3 separate regions of the Homo sapiens genome follow, and all the other regions are linked to region 2. Evidence: promoter capture Hi-C in 16 types of primary human blood cells and fetal thymus (Javierre and others, 2016). All regions are on one chromosome and are shown on one strand. Each heading gives the region's core, a stretch centred on a gene start or on the middle of the fragment in contact. The rest is flanking DNA. Distances are from core to core; before and after follow the strand shown.

Region 1 (3,893 bases), core at 936-3,435, 5.3 Mb after region 2:
GTAGTAATTTATTTTTATTTATCACTTCATTTATCTGAGCTTAACAGCTTGGCAATTTTTATTTTTATTTTTTGAGACAGAGTCTCACTGTGTCACCCAGGCTGGAGTGGAGTGGCGGGATCTTGGCTCACTGCAACCCTTGTCTCCCGGGTTCAGGCAGTTCTCCTGCTTCAGCCTCCTCAGTAGCTAGGATTACAGGCATGCACGACCACGCCTGGCTAATTCATGTATTTTTAGTAGAGATGGGCTTCACCATGTTGGCCAGGCTGGTCTCGAACTCTGGACCTCAAGTGATCCACCTGCCTTGGCCTCCCAAAGTGCTGGGATTACAGGCATGAGCCACCACACCAGCTGGCAATTTTTGAGTGAATTACAATATATAATTCATAATAGCAGTCATTTTCCTTTACATTTAGTTACAACAGTGGATTTTAACAATGAACAATATATAATGTATTTGTGAAGAATATTGTTATATATTTTAGTAGAAAGTGTGAAATCTAAGAATGTTTGTGATGGATACTCTTTATAAGTTAGGCACTCCTATAGCAGTAAATCATATATTTAAATTAAAATAATTGGAATTATTTTGTATATATGTATTTTATATTTGTAATATATGTATTTTATATTTATAAGAGATTAATTGCCTATCCAATTATTTTTTATGAAAAGATGGTTTAACAAAACATTTTGCGTACTTTTTTTTTTTTTTTTTATAAAAGCCAACCTAGGAATAATCAACCTCGGTACAGGAATTCGTTGTCATTGGTTCAAAAAATATAATGAATACAAAATAATGCCAGAATTATAATAATGAGCTAAATATACACAGTCTCTCTAATCACAGAGCATAGAGTTCAGTTGGGAGAGAGAACATTTTCATGGACTGTTATAATAAACCACAGTACACTATTACATGGTAGAGACATTGTATTCAGTATGGAACAGTATGAAAAAGAGCTCTAAGTAGAGATCTAAATGATGAATGGAGATTATTCTCGTGTAGGGGCAAAGAAGTGTATTTTGGGATTTCATAGGTTTAGGTTTTTGTTTTCTAAGAAAACGTAATGAACTCTGTTAAATAAAATATTTTAACAAAATGTATTAAATACAAGGCCTGGCACGGTGGCTCATGCCTGTAATCCCAGCACTTTGGGAGGCCGAGGCGGGTGGATCACAAGGTCAGGAGTTCGAGGCCAGCCTGGCCAACATAGTGAAACCCCATCTCTACTAAAAATAGAAAAATTAGCCAGGCATGGTCGCACATGCCTGTAATCCCAGCTACTCGGGAGGCCGAGGCAGGAGAATCGCTTAAACCCAGGAGGCAGAGGTTGCAGTGAGCCTAGATTGCACCATTGCACTCCGGCCTGGGCAACAAGAGCAAAACTCCGTCTAAAAAAAGAAAAAAAATTATTACATATAAATACTCATGTATAAAATGTCAGTGGCTGTTTTTGGAGTATTCATGCATTTGAAGAATTATTTTAACTCCTGATATTTCATTTCAAAAAACAGTCACCTAGAATAAGAATATGAACATTTAAAATTATAAATATTTTACAGCTTATACCTGTCTCATTCCTATTATAGTTGTTCAGTCAATATTGGATGGATACATGATAATATCTACATTTAAACAATGCTATTTTTTCTACTCTTGTTTTTGAACAATTTTAAACCATTAATATTAGTGAAAAACATTAATTGTGAAATAATTTCATGTTACTTTTCCTTTGAAGCGGACATTACTGTTAAAACTAGTATAACCAAGGACATCATATGTAAGTTTGAATAGTGAAAAATCTGAATGTTATTGTCAGTCAAATTGGCTTTTTAAAAAAAACTCCAAAAGCTAATAGTTAGAGCTCTTGAATTAAATAGCATTATTTAGCTAACTTTCTTACATTATTTGATTTTGGCTTTATTAAACCTATTTGTGATAGTTTGTCCAAATTATTTGCAAAGTTTTTTTTTTTTTAACAAACCCTATCTATTGTATTTACACATCTTTAAAATATGTTGGCTTGAATTCTTCTCTAAATATAAGCAGATAGGATTAAGAATAGGCTGTGGACTATTAGAATAGAAAGGCAGAAGCTACAGTTGTGCTGAAATATTTATGTACAATAATTAAATATACTCACACATAAGCCAGATGTGCAAAATAAAACTTGATACAGGATCAATGTAAAGGAAAGCTCTGTTTCATTAAGTGTCTGTAATGAATTTTGTTAAAGTTAGGATCTGTCATTATCTTGTGTCTTTTGGTTGTAAACACAGGCTAAGTGAAGGATTTAATGTACAGAGGTTCACGTGCCTTTTGTTCACATTCTTCCTCTATTCTTTTCAAATCTAACTCGGTGGGATTGTCATCCTTTGTAAAAAGAACCTTGGGTCAACATTCAGTAGAACCCTGCACTTGGAAAAGTCTCCATTTCCTTTTGAGAAGAAAATTAGATTGCAACTTAAATAATTTGCACAGAATGGTTTTACTTATTTTTTGTGAGTTGATATAGTAGGTCTAGTGTGTAAAACTTAGTTAAGGAAAGACAACTCTGGGTGTAGCAGGTGAGTGCATGCATGTTCACACCAATCTGTTTTGCAAACCTTAATAACTGACCCAAGGATAAAAACAATAATTTAGTAGTCACCAGGAGTTCCTCTTCCAATCACTATACTTGATTACTGTGTGGCCTCTTTATTGCAAGTTTTATTGTGTTGTGGCATCTGCCAATGGATGTATTAGAAACATCAATATTTACTCATATTTAAAAAATGAGAACTGTTTGCTTTTTAAAAAACATTAACCCATTTAAAAATATAAGTTAAAATGCATATTAGATATTTAAAAATATACTTAATGATTAAATGTATTACCATTAATGTAATTTTTCATTCACTTGACTGCAACAGCCCCAATATCTATTTTATAGTACCATCGTTAGATTCTCATGATTTATCTTCTGAAATATATCTGAAGAGAATAGTCAAAGAAGTTAGTTCTTCAAGAAACATGATATTCTAGGTTAAGTAGATTTTAACTGTGCTTGGAAAAAATACTAGTATTTTAAAATTACAGTGTAAAATTAAATATTAAAATTTAAACTGCATTGTTCGTGATATTGGGATCTTTTGACTGCATCTTAATGGTCTTAAATGTTGTAAATGTTCTTTAAACTAGTGTCCTCTACTAGATATAAAAGGCAAGTATATGCCAATTGGTTATCTAATTTTGCTAGGTGAGTCTTAAACTGTAAAAAAAAGTTTACAGGTCTCTTCACAGAGTCAAAACCTGGGCATTTTATTGCTTTCTAATGGCCATTAGGATGAAGAAGAGGCAATTAAATAGGCAATTAATGTAGTACTGACTTGAGCTCTCTGATTTTAGGTTCTTCAGAAGAGGATGAGGTCATTCAACCAGGTTTCATCAGCCCCAGGTTAGTCTTTTTTTTTTTTTTTAAATATTTTGTTTAATTAATGTTTTAAAAGATCAAGATCGCTAGAGGCATATGAGAACCTGACAGCCCTCAGGAATTCTCCATCCTTTCTACTTTGGCAAGACAGGTACCAAGTCCTCCTATACTTCGTCCTGATCACTCCATCTAAAAAACTGGTGTTCCCATAAGAATTACGTGGACAACCTCTTCTAATTAACCCCTTTCCCCCCACCCCCACTTTTAGCAGTATTGTATTTTGTGATTCCTTTTTCTGTAACTCAAGCAGCATAGATAACAGATATTTAAATGCTTATGGAGATGAATGAAAAGTATTCATGGTTTGTTCATTTTTGTAACTCCCAAAGTAAAATATGCACTAACGAATATCTGCTGAACTAAATTAAAAATGGAGACATGGTGCTGTTTTAAAATAATTTATCATAACAGAAATAG
Region 2 (3,735 bases), core at 1-2,500:
ACCACTCAGGCCTCTCTTGGAAGAACTGCATCGGGCTCCGGTGCTGGCTGCATAGGATTTGGGGAGCTGTGCTCAGAACTAGCAGCACGCGGCAGGTGCCGGCAGAAATCACAAATATCTGATGAACTTGATTACTTGGCTACTATTTATGAAAATAAATGTTCTCACGCCAATTGGAGGCTTCCCTAAAAGAAAACGGGTAGCTCTCCGGTTTAACTCTGAAGTACAACGTCTTGTTAGTTCACAAAGTAGGTGTAAGAAAGAGTTGTCCCAAACGCCCACCTCGCCCCTCTTCTCTACAACCTTTAACAGATTGCGGTGATTTTCGTTTTTGTTTACTGTTTTTTTTTTAATAGAAAAGTCCAGGTTGCTGGTTTTAGGGAAGTTAGTCCAAGGACATCTTCTAGGGGACGTGATCAATAACCCACTGGTAGAACTTCTTCCTCTTCAACCCTGGGCTGCGGACCGGGGCGCAGGATCCCCATTCGAAACTGTTGGTTCTGGGGCTGTTTCCCATTCTCCAGAGAAAGTGCAGGCCCGGGGTGTGCCCGAGAAAAGTGATGAGCAGTTGACCTCCCCTTCTCAACTTGGTCTGGAGGCTTCATCATATTTTCGGACGAAATGGGACAGAAGTGAGAATTAAAGCGGTTCTGAATAGACGACTGGCCTGAACCCAATCCCCTGAAATGGTAATATGGTTGTTATTTAAAAAGTGTAGGTATTTTCTGGTGTTTTCCCATCAAGTACCTGCCTAATTTCTGTATGGCACACGCCAGAAATCAATAGTAGTTAACAAGTCCTCCAAACAGTCTCCATCTCTTTGTTTAATCTCCTTTACAATAAAGCCAAGGGGAGAGAATTAAAAATCTTTGAAGTAGATCAAGGCTCAAAGGAATCAGCCAAGTAGACTTAAAGTAGTCACTTATTTCCCAAAACTGGTTTGTCGGGGAACAATAAAAGGAAGTAAAATTTATGGAGAAATTATACAGTGGATTTGTCACTTAAAATATCGTAACTGTCTGGAGGACAATACCCCATGCTGAGGATTAATGGTCCCGCCGGACCTTTGATTCACCAGTGCCTTTTCTTCGCCCTTGACAAATTGGATTTTTAGGAATGGGAAGGTCGCCTGGACCATTGTGTGCTAGCCATTCAGCGGCCTCGATTATGCAGGGGGCTGAGGGAACCACTCCATGTGACCCTCTCGGGTGGGACTCTGCAGCTGCTTCGCAGCGCAACTCTCTCACCAAACTCCGCGCCCTTGCGCTAGCGGTGCCAAAAGGCTCCCGCCCCGATTGAAAAGGCGCAGTGCATGCCCGCCCGCGTCACTCCGCGGGCGGAGGACGCACGTCGGGGCGCGGCTCTCTGGCTAGCGCGCAGCTCCAGCTCTGTCACTCGCGCCCTTCCAAGGACCTGGAGCACCCGAGCGCCTGCCTGGTGGCGGCGGCAACAATGCACGGAGCCGCCAGAGCGCCAGCCACCAGCGTGAGTGCCGACTGCTGCATCCCGGCCGGCTTGCGCCTCGGACCGGTGCCTGGTACCTTCAAGCTGGGCAAGTACCTGTCAGACCGCAGGGAGCCCGGGCCTAAGAAAAAGGTATTGACCATTCAGACCTCTGCCCACTGCCATTCGCCTCTCAGTGCCCTGACCCGGGAAAGGGGTACGAGAGAAAGTGGAGGAAGGGAGTGATTGAGTCGTTACCTGCTAATTCTGCCGGGTGGAAGGGGACTCCTATTATTCTGAGCAAGTAGCCTCTTTAACTGTGAGAGCTGGACGGGGTCGGGCTGAGAGGAGAGGATGTGGCCGAGAGGCGACAGCCCTGGGTGGGGTGCACTGAGCGCTGTAGGTGCCGGGACCATTCGCAGCTTGTGTTTTCCCCTGCGCTCTCGGGTCTCCTCAGTCAGAAGCCAGAAGCCCACCCCCGCACGCTGTCCGCAGCTCTCTCTGCAAAAGCACCCTCTTTCTGGGGGCTCAGGGCATCGAGACCCTTTCTTCCCTTCTGCCCTTCAATATGTTAATTTGAGGCCTAATTTCGCCTTAAAGTAATTTTTTTTCCTGAAAAAAAAAATCTTTGGGAGGCTCTCAGTTCCTAGAACCTCCTCAGATATTTTTTTTTCCCTTGCCGATGTCGGCTTGTGGGTATGCGGCATATGGAGAGAGGATGAGCAAGGTACTGGCTCTGACGCGGGCTCCAAGGGCGAGGCGCGCCCATTCGCGCGGGGCACAGGGTCAGAGCGTCTGCAGCGGGGCTCTGAGAGTCCAGAGGCCCAACCGGGAGGCGCCAGGGCCAAACCACTAGCTTTGACTCCCACACTCCACACACCGTCGCGACCCCTGACCAGAGAGACTTATAGCACTCGCCCGCTTTGGGGGCGTCCCAGGAGCCAAAGGTCGGCAAACAGCGACCGGGAAATGAAGGCAGAAGTCTGGGGTAGAAGAAAGGACTTTGGCTTCCTTGGCTTTAGCTTGCCTTGCTTGGAGCTTTCTAGTAAAAAGCTCCGGTGTCCAGCCAGCGGGACTTGCACCTCGCTCCTCCTGCAATCACGCCCCCCACTACAGTCTAAAGCGGGGTTTGGTGCCCACCGCGCATTCCTCTTTAAACGCGTTTTAATTGCTTTTAAATGGCCTGCCAGCTGCGGGCAAGCTTTTCCCCGCTTGGGCTTTGTTCCGAGACTTTAGCTGCAGGGCTCACAGGCAACTAGGTGCGATGCACACAGAATACAGGAGGCATGAGATAATTTTTTTGTTTGTTTGTCGGGGGTACGCTCTGGGCCCTGGGACTGACCTAGAAATGTCTCTACCGTGGTGTTACGGCTGCTCTCAGAACTGCAAATGGGAGAGCTGGGGTAGGGGACAACTTGGTACAAGATGTGCCTAAGCACTCAGGGAGGATGCTCTCAACACCCCTCTCCCCTCCCCGTGTCGTCAAGGTGGGGCGCAGGGAAGTGGGAGTACTGTTAGCATAGGTAGACTTTCCTCTTTCTCCCTCCCCGAAGCAAGGTCCTAAGGAATTCTCCTCCTCCCAGTAGCCCATAGTGGTCTGGCCAAACCAAAAACAACCACTTTCCTGTGTTGGGTTGGGGTGGAGGATAAACTTTCTGTTTGGGTTGTGGGCCTGGCCAAGGTGCGGGGGAGAACGACCACTGCTTGTGTTGCAGGTGCGCATGGTGAGAGGGGAGCTGGTGGACGAGTCGGGGGGCTCCCCTCTGGAGTGGATAGGGTTAATCCGGGCAGCCAGAAACTCCCAGGAACAGACTCTGGAAGCTATTGCAGACTTACCCGGAGGACAGGTACTGCGGGCTTCTCTCCACACCCCCCCACTCCCCACCGCCAATTCAGTCTACCTAACCGTCCCTGCGGTGGCCAAAAATATTAAGAGCAAAGTACTTTAGCTAGACGTCTCATTTAAACGTCTCGACAACCCTTTAAGGTAGTTACTATTGTTTTTCCGTTTGAAGGATGACGGAAGTGAGGTTCAGAGAGCTCCAGTAGCTTCTCCAGGGTCACACAGCATCAGAATCCGGATTTGAACCTTTCTTCTCAGTTGCTTTTTGACCGATTACCCAGGAAATGACATTGAACTGTTCTATTCCTTGCGTCCCAGATCTTCTACCGAGCATTGCGAGACGTCCAGCCAGGGGAGGAGCTGACAGTGTGGTATTCTAACTCCTTGGCTCAGTGGTTCGACATCCCCACCACAGCGACTCCGACTCACGACGAGAAAGGTACCCATTC
Region 3 (3,730 bases), core at 631-3,130, 8.6 Mb after region 2:
CTTATGCCCTGAAGCATGAGATCTGATTACCCCTATCATCATCTTAGCTTGCATAGATACAGATGTTATTAACGGCTGTAGTTTATCCAACCCTTTTTTAAAACGCAGCTGCAGCATTTGACTTGGGGACCTCCTGTGAATCCCACTGGTTGACTCCGTCTTGCACAAAGCACGTGGGGTTTGGGGGAGGGAGAAGAGAGAGGGAGGTTTGTTTTGTTTTGGAGGGTTTTTTTTTTTTTTTTTTGAATCAGAGTTCCCTAAATAGCCACTCGGCATCTTTGTAAGTGATGTGAATTCTGAAATTACTTACTAGAATAGGACAACAGAGTACTGTGTGAACTAGATCTGTTGGAAACAAAGCATAGTAGAATGTATGATGCTTTTCACTTCATTGGCAGAGATCAAATATGTGGTCCTGATATACTCATCCACATAATAAAGAATTGTAGCTTATTCTGAAATATATTGGCCACATTCAAACTGGAGTACCTGGTTTTACATAACAATTGTTTCTACAAGTGTTGAAACAGTAATCTGGATAAAGTAGGTCCTAAAGCTGCTGTGAAGGGAAGACAGGGACGTTTTTAAAATCTGAAAGGCCTAGATTGGCAATCCAGGCAGATCAAATTCAGCGATTAATTGGTCAATCTAATCATTGCCTTTTTCTCAGCATCTATGATTTGTGTCTCTAAGTATTGCTCCTGTAGGTCATATCATCCCTTCTATAAAACAGAGAGGACACCTCACAGGTTTCCTATACCTTGGAACACAGCAAATTTTAAGTACTGGCAGAAAGGGAATTTAGAAAAAAACCCTGTGAAGTAAAGGAGGCTGACGTTGCACAAATACTGAACTATAGTTTCAAGATGCACAAAACACTGTTCTTAATTCTAATTACTTCACTAGTAAGTAAGTGAAATTGCTTTAATTGGAGCTTCTAGAAGCCCTTCTGGGAAATGAGAGGTAGCTGGATGCAGTAGAATGCAGTGGAATGAGTATTTCAAAGAGCACTGGACTCAGCATCAGGAGATATGGGTTCTGGGGATGATCTCTGTCTCTCAGTGAGTAAGCAAGGACAAGTTGTCTCTAAGGTTCTCACTTTCCTCATCTATAAAATGACTACATTAGAGGAGTGCCTTGTAACTTATGTGCTCTGTGATTCCACGCTAAATGGAAGCCAAGTTAGACTGTGTAATTCACAGGAAATTAGGAGGCTGAAGAAAGCTTGGCAGCCAGTATCTCCCTGGATGTAGTCTGTGTTCTGCTTTCTTGTTTCTCTAGTCATTCTTTTGTTTTCAGAAAGCCAAAAATGACCTGCACTGCTTCCCAAGGTTTGGAGATTCAGAGGACCTGTCCCTGTTCCCTTCCTACCCCATTGCTGGGGCTGAGCAAAAATGAGCCCTTCACCTCAAGCTTCAGTAGCTTTCATTGAGTATCATCAGGCAGGTTCACTCATACATTCCACATTTACAAAGCACCACTATGTGCCAGGGTGCAAGGGACTAGAAAGATGTTTCTACTTGATTATTCTTGGAGCCAGAGAATGTCAAGATGCAGCGGGACTCTAGAAGCCTCGGAGTCTCAGCCTGACTTTAGAACTGAATTTTTGTCCAACCAAGGGTGTGAATAAATGCAAAGACATGACTTGTTATTTGTTAAGGTTGTGGGGTGAGGGGGGTGGTCACACAGAGCATTGTCTCCTTGTTGTTAGCAGCGTTCATCTTCCTACTTGTGGGGAGTAACAGACTACTTTTGGCAATACAGTGCTCAAAAGTGTCAAGAAAAACCCTGCAACTCAGGACCCACTGGATTCTAGAGAACAAGCGTCTCTTTTCTGGATTGTTCTTGTTTATTTGGGGGGTAAATTTGGATAAGAATCAAACAACTTGTAGAGAGATCCACAGCAGAATCAAGAGCAAGCCTGCAAACACTGTTTCTTTCATTTGGCACTTAGCAAGCACCTACTATGTGCCAGACACTGCTCCATGACCCACCTCCTCTCTCACCATCCACTGGGCAAACAACAGCCATAGGTTGAATTATGATGTGGAAGCAAATGCAAATCAACTTCCTCCTTCATATAAACAAACAAACAAACAAACAAACAAAAACTTGTGTCAGAATGTTTTTGGATACTAAACATCAAAACTCAGCCAAGCTCAGCTGGTAGGTTTTCCCAGCGATTTCCTTGGTCTGAGCATCTCTTAACTCTGCATATCGGTAAGGGGAATGGTATTTTAAAGGAGTGACTCTCTAGAGGTTGAATGGCCTCTGTGAGGGGTCGATCACAGGGGATTGGGGAAGGGGTCTCTTTAACACCAATTCCATCAGCTCTGCTAGCTGATGGGAAAGCTTGTCCTTTCACCTTCGGTATTTTAATTTAGAAGAATGTGTGTGTGTGGAGGGGGTGTTAATGGAAAAAATGTCACCGTTTTTAGAGAAGCTAGTGAATGGCAGGGCTAGCAGTCAACCTCAGATAGTCTGAAACTTTGAGGGGTGCTCTGTACCCCTGCCTCTCTCATACAACCTAGTTAATAGGATTCTCTTTAACAGGGCACTAGCAGAGGAATGAGCTATAATACAATACAGTCCTCAGAGGACTGTAGAATCAGTAGATTCTCCTAACACAAGGCCAGCTTTCCAGGGCAATTCTGGACAGCCTATGTCACCGCACACTGGTTTAGGGCTCCTTGTATATATCTCCAGTGTCCTGTGTTTCATCCCAATCTAAAACATTTATCATCTTTTATGTGTCTGCTCCCTGCTACATGGAGAAAGGAGTCATGTCATTAATCTGCTATATCCCCAGGGTCTGGCATATAGTGGGTGCTCAGTATTTGATGAGTGGGTAGATTGATGGATGGGCAGAAATACCCCTTGATCCATGGTCCTCTCATGATCTTATTTCCTATCTCTTGGACCAAAATGTAAACATCCTTCGATAAAAGAACCTTCCCTGCGTTTTAGGCTTTGGTTTTGGTTGAGAGCTCCATACTCACAAGCGCCTACAGAGGAAATTAGGGGCTATGTCTGAACCTGTTTAGAAGGGTTTCAGAACCTCTGAGGGTGTGGCTATCCCCACCACCTTCCAAAGCAATAAACTTATCCTTGTAACTTAAGGTCTTGTCTCTGTTAAAAGATAATTCTGAGCCAGATGGCATTTGCCCCTTATCAATCATTTCCTTTAATGGACTCACAGGAAAAAATCTTTGAAAGTTAAGACCGAACAGGGTGAGAATCCTTTTACAAATAACAATCTGGAACCCAGAGAGGTCTAGCCACTCGCCTAAGGTCACACAGCTTGTTGGCACAGCCCTGAATCCCTATCTCGTGGTTTCCAGCGTTTAGCCTGGCTGTGCCTCCAGTGGCCCCTCAGGGCATCTGCAGGTGACTTCCCTTCATTTGCCCAACATTTATGCAGCACCTACTATGAATCAGGCAGCATGCTGGGGCCTGTGGATAGAAAGATGAAGAGCCATAGTCTTTGTCCTGCAAAGGCTTTCTTCTCTGAGCTGTACCCATGGTAGCCCCAAGTTTCTACGCCTTAAATCCGAGGTCCCCCGTGGCCTGCAGCAGCTTTGCCTGAGTAGAAGGCAGCCCGCACTAAGGCTCCAGGCTTATTTGGGACCTGGTGGGCGACGGGGCCTCAGCCCCTCCCGCCTACCCTGGAGCTTGTTGCCGCCGTTACCACTGAACCAGTCATGCCAGAAAGTCATCACGATGATTTCAG

What was found. Contacts are between HindIII fragments. The CHiCAGO score rates a contact against its expected background, and 5 or more counts as called.
Region 1: a contact is called between a fragment that was not itself captured here and the fragment with the promoter of PRDM13 in region 2, in 1 of 17 cell types (total B cells). The highest score is 5.5, in total B cells.
Region 3: a contact is called between a fragment that was not itself captured here and the fragment with the promoter of PRDM13 in region 2, in 1 of 17 cell types (total B cells). The highest score is 8.4, in total B cells.

What each region holds. Positions count from the first base shown.
Region 1 is chr6:104,947,070-104,950,962 of GRCh38, forward strand. It overlaps a transcript of LIN28B not described here. Among named protein-coding and RNA genes, the nearest start is that of LIN28B, 8.1 kb to the right of the region's middle. The HindIII fragment of the contact is 6,126 bases long and covers 1-3,893 here.
Region 2 is chr6:99,605,583-99,609,317 of GRCh38, forward strand. PRDM13 (PR/SET domain 13) reads left to right here and starts at 1,251. Exons shown (of 4, transcript NM_021620.4): 1 at 1,251-1,596; 2 at 3,159-3,290; 3 at 3,605-3,725. The coding sequence starts at 1,453. The HindIII fragment of the contact is 6,161 bases long and covers 1-2,642 here.
Region 3 is chr6:108,160,085-108,163,814 of GRCh38, forward strand. No RefSeq gene overlaps it. Among named protein-coding and RNA genes, the nearest start is that of NR2E1, 4.1 kb to the right of the region's middle. RefSeq lists enhancers at 1-252, 3,178-3,730. The HindIII fragment of the contact is 939 bases long and covers 1,412-2,350 here.